2 separate regions of the Homo sapiens genome follow, and region 2 is linked to region 1. Evidence: promoter capture Hi-C in 16 types of primary human blood cells and fetal thymus (Javierre and others, 2016). All regions are on one chromosome and are shown on one strand. The core of a region is centred on a gene start or on the middle of the fragment in contact, and the rest is flanking DNA. Distances in the headings are between cores, read along the strand shown.

Region 1 (2,815 bases), core at 246-2,745:
TCTGGAACAGGGCCCATGCGAGAAGGTGCTGGGGGAAGCAGACAAGGGCCTGGACTTGAAATCTGTGACCAGGGCAGCCCCTCCCTGGGCTCTCTGAGCCACAGTTTCCTTCCTGTATAATGGGGTAGAAATGGGTGCACCCCTGCCCCTCAGCAGGTGGCATGAGGCTCAAGGACAGGGAGGAGGTACCTGGACCTCTGGGCATACAGTTTGGATGTTCGTCCCCTCCAAATCTCATGTTGAAATGTAACCCCCAATGCTGGAGGCGGGGCCTGGTGGGGGGTGTTTGGGTCATGGGAGCGGATCCCTCATGAATGGCTTGGTGGCCTCCCCATGGTGATCAGGGAGTCCTCGCTCTTCTAGTTCATGTGAGGGCTGGTAGTTTAACAGGTCTGGCACCTCCTCCCTTCCCTCTTGCTCCCTCTCTCACCTCGTGACACACTTATTCTCCCCTCACCTTCTGCCATGACTGGAAGCTTCGTGAGGCCTTACTAGAAACAGATGCAGGTGCCATACTTTTTTTTTTGGAGACACAGTCTCACTCTGTCGCCCAGGCTGGAGTGCGGTAGTGCTGTGATATCGGCTCACTGCAAGCTCCGCCTCCCAGGTTCGAGCCATTCTCCTGCCTCAGCCTCCCAAGTAGCTGGGACTACAGGCGCCCGCCTGCCACCACACTCAGCTAATTTTTTGTATTTTTAGCAGAGACGGGGCTTCACCATATTAGCCAGGATGGTCTTGATCTCCTGACCTCGTGATCCGCCCTCTTCAGCCTCCCAAAGTGCTGGGATTACCGGCGTGAGCCACCATGCCTGGCCGGTGCCATACTTCTTATACAGCCTGCAGAACCATAAGCCAAGTAAATCTCTTTTCTTTATAAATTACCCAGCCTCAGGTATTCCTCATAGCAACATGATATGAACTAACACACTTCCCAAGACCCTCAGTGTAGCTGCACCTCCAACACCTTCCTGCTGGCCCACGCTATAGCGCAGGCAGCGCTGAGCCAGGCCGGGCCAGGCACTGACGCCCAGTCAATGTGTTCTGGGCGCATAAGCAAACTGAGCAATGAGAAAGCCCATCTCCAACAGGGCTGCTCCCCACAACAGACCTCTCATCTGGAGCCAAGGGGAGAGAAGAGGAGGAGGAAGACCACAGATGGACCCAAAGCACTGCACACTGGGTGGTTCTGGGCCCGGACAGGCCAGTAACAAAAAGCAGCAGAAAGAAGGATACTTTCCAACAAAGCAAGGAGAGTTCAGGAAGAAAGCACAGATTCTAATCTGTGTGGCCACAAGAGAACACATGGTAGAATCCCTTCCAGCAAAGCCGCCTGCTCTCCCCTGACTGCTTTCCCTTTCTGAGATGAGTTTTCCTTCCCTGGCCAGGGCTGGGAGGCCGTGCTCCTCCTGGCAGGGGCTCAGGCCACACCTCTTGGAAGAGCAGCTCAGCTGACCTTGGGCCCACATGTCCTGGAACCAACTCTGAAGCCAACACCAGGCAGTCCCACCCTGAGAAGGGACCAAGCACAGAGGCGGCCACTGCAGCCAACTGCACAGCTGGACCCGGGTAGGGCTCCTCCCTCGGGACCTCCAGATGGCTCCTCACCCTTGAGGTCCCTTCTTTTTGGTCAGAGCTACTCTAGTCGCACCCACTCAGTCGTGAACTGGAGCAGCAGCCAGAGAGAGAGTAAGACAATGGTGAATGAGAAGAGGCCAGGTGACAGGAACCTGCAAGCTCATCCATCCACAAACATCCACTGAGCACCTGCCACGGGCTGGGCCCCGTGCATTCAACAACAAGTAAGAGAGACATCCTCTGCTTTCTCAAAGCTCCCATTCTAGTATAAGGACTCGGTCAAGATCCACAGGGACATGTTTAAAAGTGCTAAGTGCCCAAGAGGGAAAAAGGAAAAGAGGAGAGAAAGTGTGGTGGGGGTAAGGGGTGGGCGCTGGCGCTGGGACTGAACTGTAGGTTGAGTAGCCAGAGAAGGAAGGAGGGAGGGAGTATGTCCTACTGTGGGGAGAGGGCTCCAGGCCAAGGAAAAAGTGCAAAGGCCTGAGGCAGGCTCACGCTTGGCATATTGGAATAGGGAGGCCAGTGGGGACCGAGCAGAGGGGGCAGAGTGGCAGAGATGAGGTCAAAGCAGTCACATGGACAAGAATATATGGGGCCATGTACATCCTAGTAAGGGCTGGGTGTTTGCTAAGCATTCAGTGTAAAGCCAGTGGAAGCTGCTACACAGAGAAGGACAGCTCTGACTGGGATTCTCTCTGGCTGCTGGGTGGAGAACAGGTTAAAAAGAGCCAGAGGCAGGGGACCAGTTACCACAAGAATCCTTGCGAGAGAACAGCAGGTGGAACCAGGGTGGTGGCAGCGGGGCTGGTGAGAAGTAATCACATCACACAGCAAATGTGAACTGGAAAGGATGGGGTGGTAGCAGAAGAGCTGAATGGTCACAGCAGCTCTACTCCTCGCTGCAGTGACCAAGGCTGCCATCGAGCAAACACACCTCAGGTGCCTGCTGTCTGCCCTGCCTCAGTAGTGCTGGGGACATGGGGAGGAGCAAAGCTGAGTCCCTATCCTTGCAGCTGGGGGTGACACCCCATGGAGACCTCACAGGCTGAGGCCCATGAGCAGAGTGGCACCAGTGTCACATCTGGTAAGGGCTGAAGAGACCTGACTGAGGGAGGGCCACCAAGACTGGCGTCCAGACACCAGGCAACAGGCAGAGGCCTGAATGCAGGCCCAGGAAGTGGGGCTAGAGGGGCAGGAGGGAAGGCGGAGGCGGAGCCAGTGAGGCAGTTACTGCCTGCTC
Region 2 (2,795 bases), core at 236-2,735, 98 kb after region 1:
GAATGCCCGGCTAGTTTTTGTATTTTCAATAGAGATGGGCAGAGGGGAGTGGGCAGGGTCTCACCATGTTGGCCAGGCTGGTCTTGAACTCCTTGTCAGGCCTCTGAGCCCAAGCTAAGCCATCATATCCCCTGTGGCCTGCACGTATACATCCAGATGGCCTGAAGTAACTGAAGAATCACAAAAGAAGTGAAAATGACCGGTTCCTGCCTTAACTGATGACATTACCTTGTGAAATTCCTTCTCCTGGCTTAGAAGCTCCCCGACTGAGCACCTTGTAACCCCCGCCCCTTCCCACCAGAGAACAACCCCCTTTGACTGTAATTTTCCACTACCTACCCAAATCCTATAAATCGGCCCCACCCCTATCTCCCTTGCTGACTCTCTTTTCGGACTCAGCCCGCCTGCACCCAGTTGAAATAAACAGCCTTGTTGCTCACACAAAGCCTGTTTGGTGGTCTCTTCACACAAACGCGCATAACACTCCTGACCTCAGGTTAACACTCCCCACACACGCCCCCCCCTCCCAAAGTGCTGGGATTACAGGCATGAGCCACCGCGCCCGGCCTCAAATGTTGGCTTTTTGTTTTGTTTTGTTTTTGAGACGGAGTCTTGGTCTGTCACCCAGGCTGGAGTGCAGTGGCGCGATCTCGGCTCACTGCAAGCTCCGCCTTCCAGGTTCACGCCATTCTCCTGCCTCAGCCTCCTGAGTAGCTGGGACTACAGGAGCCCGCCACCACGTCCGGCTAATTTTTTGTATTTTTAGTAGAGACGGGGTTTCACCGTGTAAGCCAGGATGGTCTCAAACTCCTGACCTCGTGATCCGCCCACCTCGGCCTCCCAAAGTGCTGGGATTACAGGCGCGAGCCACCACGCTCAGCCTAAATGTTGGCCTTTTTTTTTTTTTTTTTTTTTTTTTTTTGAGACGAAGCTTCGCTCTTGCTGCCCAGGCTGGAGTGCAATGGCACGATCTCGACTCACCGCAACCTCCGCCTCCCGGGTTCAAGCCATTCCCCTCCCTCAGCCTCCCGAGTAGCTGAGATTACAGGCATGTGCCACCACGCCCGGCTAGTTTTTGTATTTTCAATATAGACAGGGTTTCTCCATGTTGGTCAGGCTGGTCTCGAACTCCTGACCTCAGGTGATCCGCCCGCCTCGGCCTCCCAAAGTGCTGGGATTACAGGCGTGAGCCACTGCGCCCGGCTAGAATGTTGTCTTTTAATACTAAGGTTTCACTTGCAAAGGGAAAGAACTGTTTGCGGAACTATCAACCGCTGTCTGAGGCGTGTCGGGAGCGACACCCCTGCGGAGGATACGGTGCCGGGGTCCTTCCGATCGCAAAAACCGGCGTTCCTCAGCCTTCAAGACTGTGAGCGCTCAGGGCCCTCGGCCGCTGCCCGCCGCAGACTCCACTTCCCATGATGCCAAGGGGTCGGGCCGTCCGGAAGGCCGTGTGCCCTCCGCGGGGCATGATGGGGTAGCTGGAGATTTCCATCATGGCGGCGTCCATTTCGGGCTACACCTTCAGTGCTGTGTGTTTCCACAGCGCCAACAGCAACGCGGACCACGTAGGTGCCGGGCCCCCTGCCGCGCCCGCTGGGGGCTTTCAGCCTCTGTCTCAGGCCGGCGCTCGCGGCCAAGCCGGGACCTCATGCGGCTCGCCCCCTGGGCACCAGGGCCGGCCGGAGGAGCTGGTGACCCGGGCGGCTCCCGCCCCCGGTGAGCTCTTGCCTCTGGGGGCTCCTTCGCCCCTGGGACAGGCCCCCTGGCTTCGCGCTCTCAGCCGCTCGGCCGTCCCGGCACAGCCGTCTCCCGTGCAGCAAAACTGTCCCACCTGGCCTCCTGCAGTGTCAGGAGTCGCTCGGTGGAAACCGAGCGCCTGCCCCTCCCTGAAAGTCAGGCTTCTAGACTTAAGAGGGGCGCACGGGGTCGGGAAGGAATCTAAAGGCCGGGCGTTTAGTCCAGTAGGCGAGGTACTCAGCCCCGCCCGCCGGTCTCGCAGGTTGTCGTGGGGGTGCTGCGAGTGAAACCGTGGCTGTCACTACTGATACTTGTTAGACACGGTTGTGTGTTTTCTTCGCCCTGATGCAAAATGGAGAATGTATACAGGAGCGTTCGGTGCAGGGTCTATTTTGTATTTCCTTGAAGTTGCGTGTTTAGTTCTTTGTGACTAGTTCTTTCACTAGTCACAGTGAAATAGGGAAGTGACAGGCCCACTACTGAGTGATGGGAAATGCATAGGCTGTGAGCCCACAGGAGGAGCAGATCCTGTCTGTTTCAGTGTCTTTATTTTACAAATTGTCTTTTAACGTCATTGGCCTCTGATTGGAAATGCTTTGTGAAACTAGATCACTTCTCTCTTAAAGGAGGTATATAATTTGGCCACCAAATTGGGGGATTATTTTAAGTGATGTTAATAGTGAATGATTCAAACTCATTAAACCTATGTGTGGGGTTTTTGGTTGTCATTACAAAGCAAAATGGTACACTGCAGAAGGAGGAACTGCATTTGGTTTGATGTCAGCAATCTTAGCTTCCATTAATAAAAACTGATTTCACAGGGAGGTGATTCCATTAGTAAATTGAATGCAATTAAATTATTGTACCTTTCATCTCTTCAGTGTTGATGGTAGAACTTAATGATAGGAATAGGAATATATACATCATGGGTTTTTCCAGAAGCAGCTTTGAAGACTATGGCCTAGGGTACTACAACCAGCTATTTAATAATGTAATATAGTTCCATATGTAAGGGTTTGTGATACCCCTAGTGTCCATGGACTATTAAAAATGGG

The links. The method cuts DNA at HindIII sites, captures the fragments that hold promoters and counts their contacts. A CHiCAGO score of 5 or more calls a contact.
Region 2: the fragment with the promoter of ABRAXAS2 here is called in contact with the fragment with the promoter of FAM53B-AS1 in region 1 in 5 of 17 cell types (activated CD4 T cells, naive CD8 T cells, total B cells and 2 more); the score reaches 9.3 in activated CD4 T cells.

What each region holds. Positions count from the first base shown.
Region 1 is chr10:124,702,533-124,705,347 of GRCh38, forward strand. It overlaps FAM53B-AS1 (FAM53B antisense RNA 1), which reads left to right and starts at 1,496. Exons shown (of 2, transcript NR_120631.1): 1 at 1,496-1,799. All of the region lies in intron 2 of FAM53B (family with sequence similarity 53 member B), which reads right to left. RefSeq lists an enhancer at 2,698-2,815. The HindIII fragment of the contact is 3,544 bases long and covers 475-2,815 here.
Region 2 is chr10:124,800,334-124,803,128 of GRCh38, forward strand. ABRAXAS2 (abraxas 2, BRISC complex subunit) reads left to right here and starts at 1,486. Exons shown (of 9, transcript NM_032182.4): 1 at 1,486-1,568. The coding sequence starts at 1,497. RefSeq lists enhancers at 1,085-1,639, 1,312-1,581, 1,640-2,193 and a silencer at 1,682-1,761. The HindIII fragment of the contact is 5,454 bases long and covers 930-2,795 here.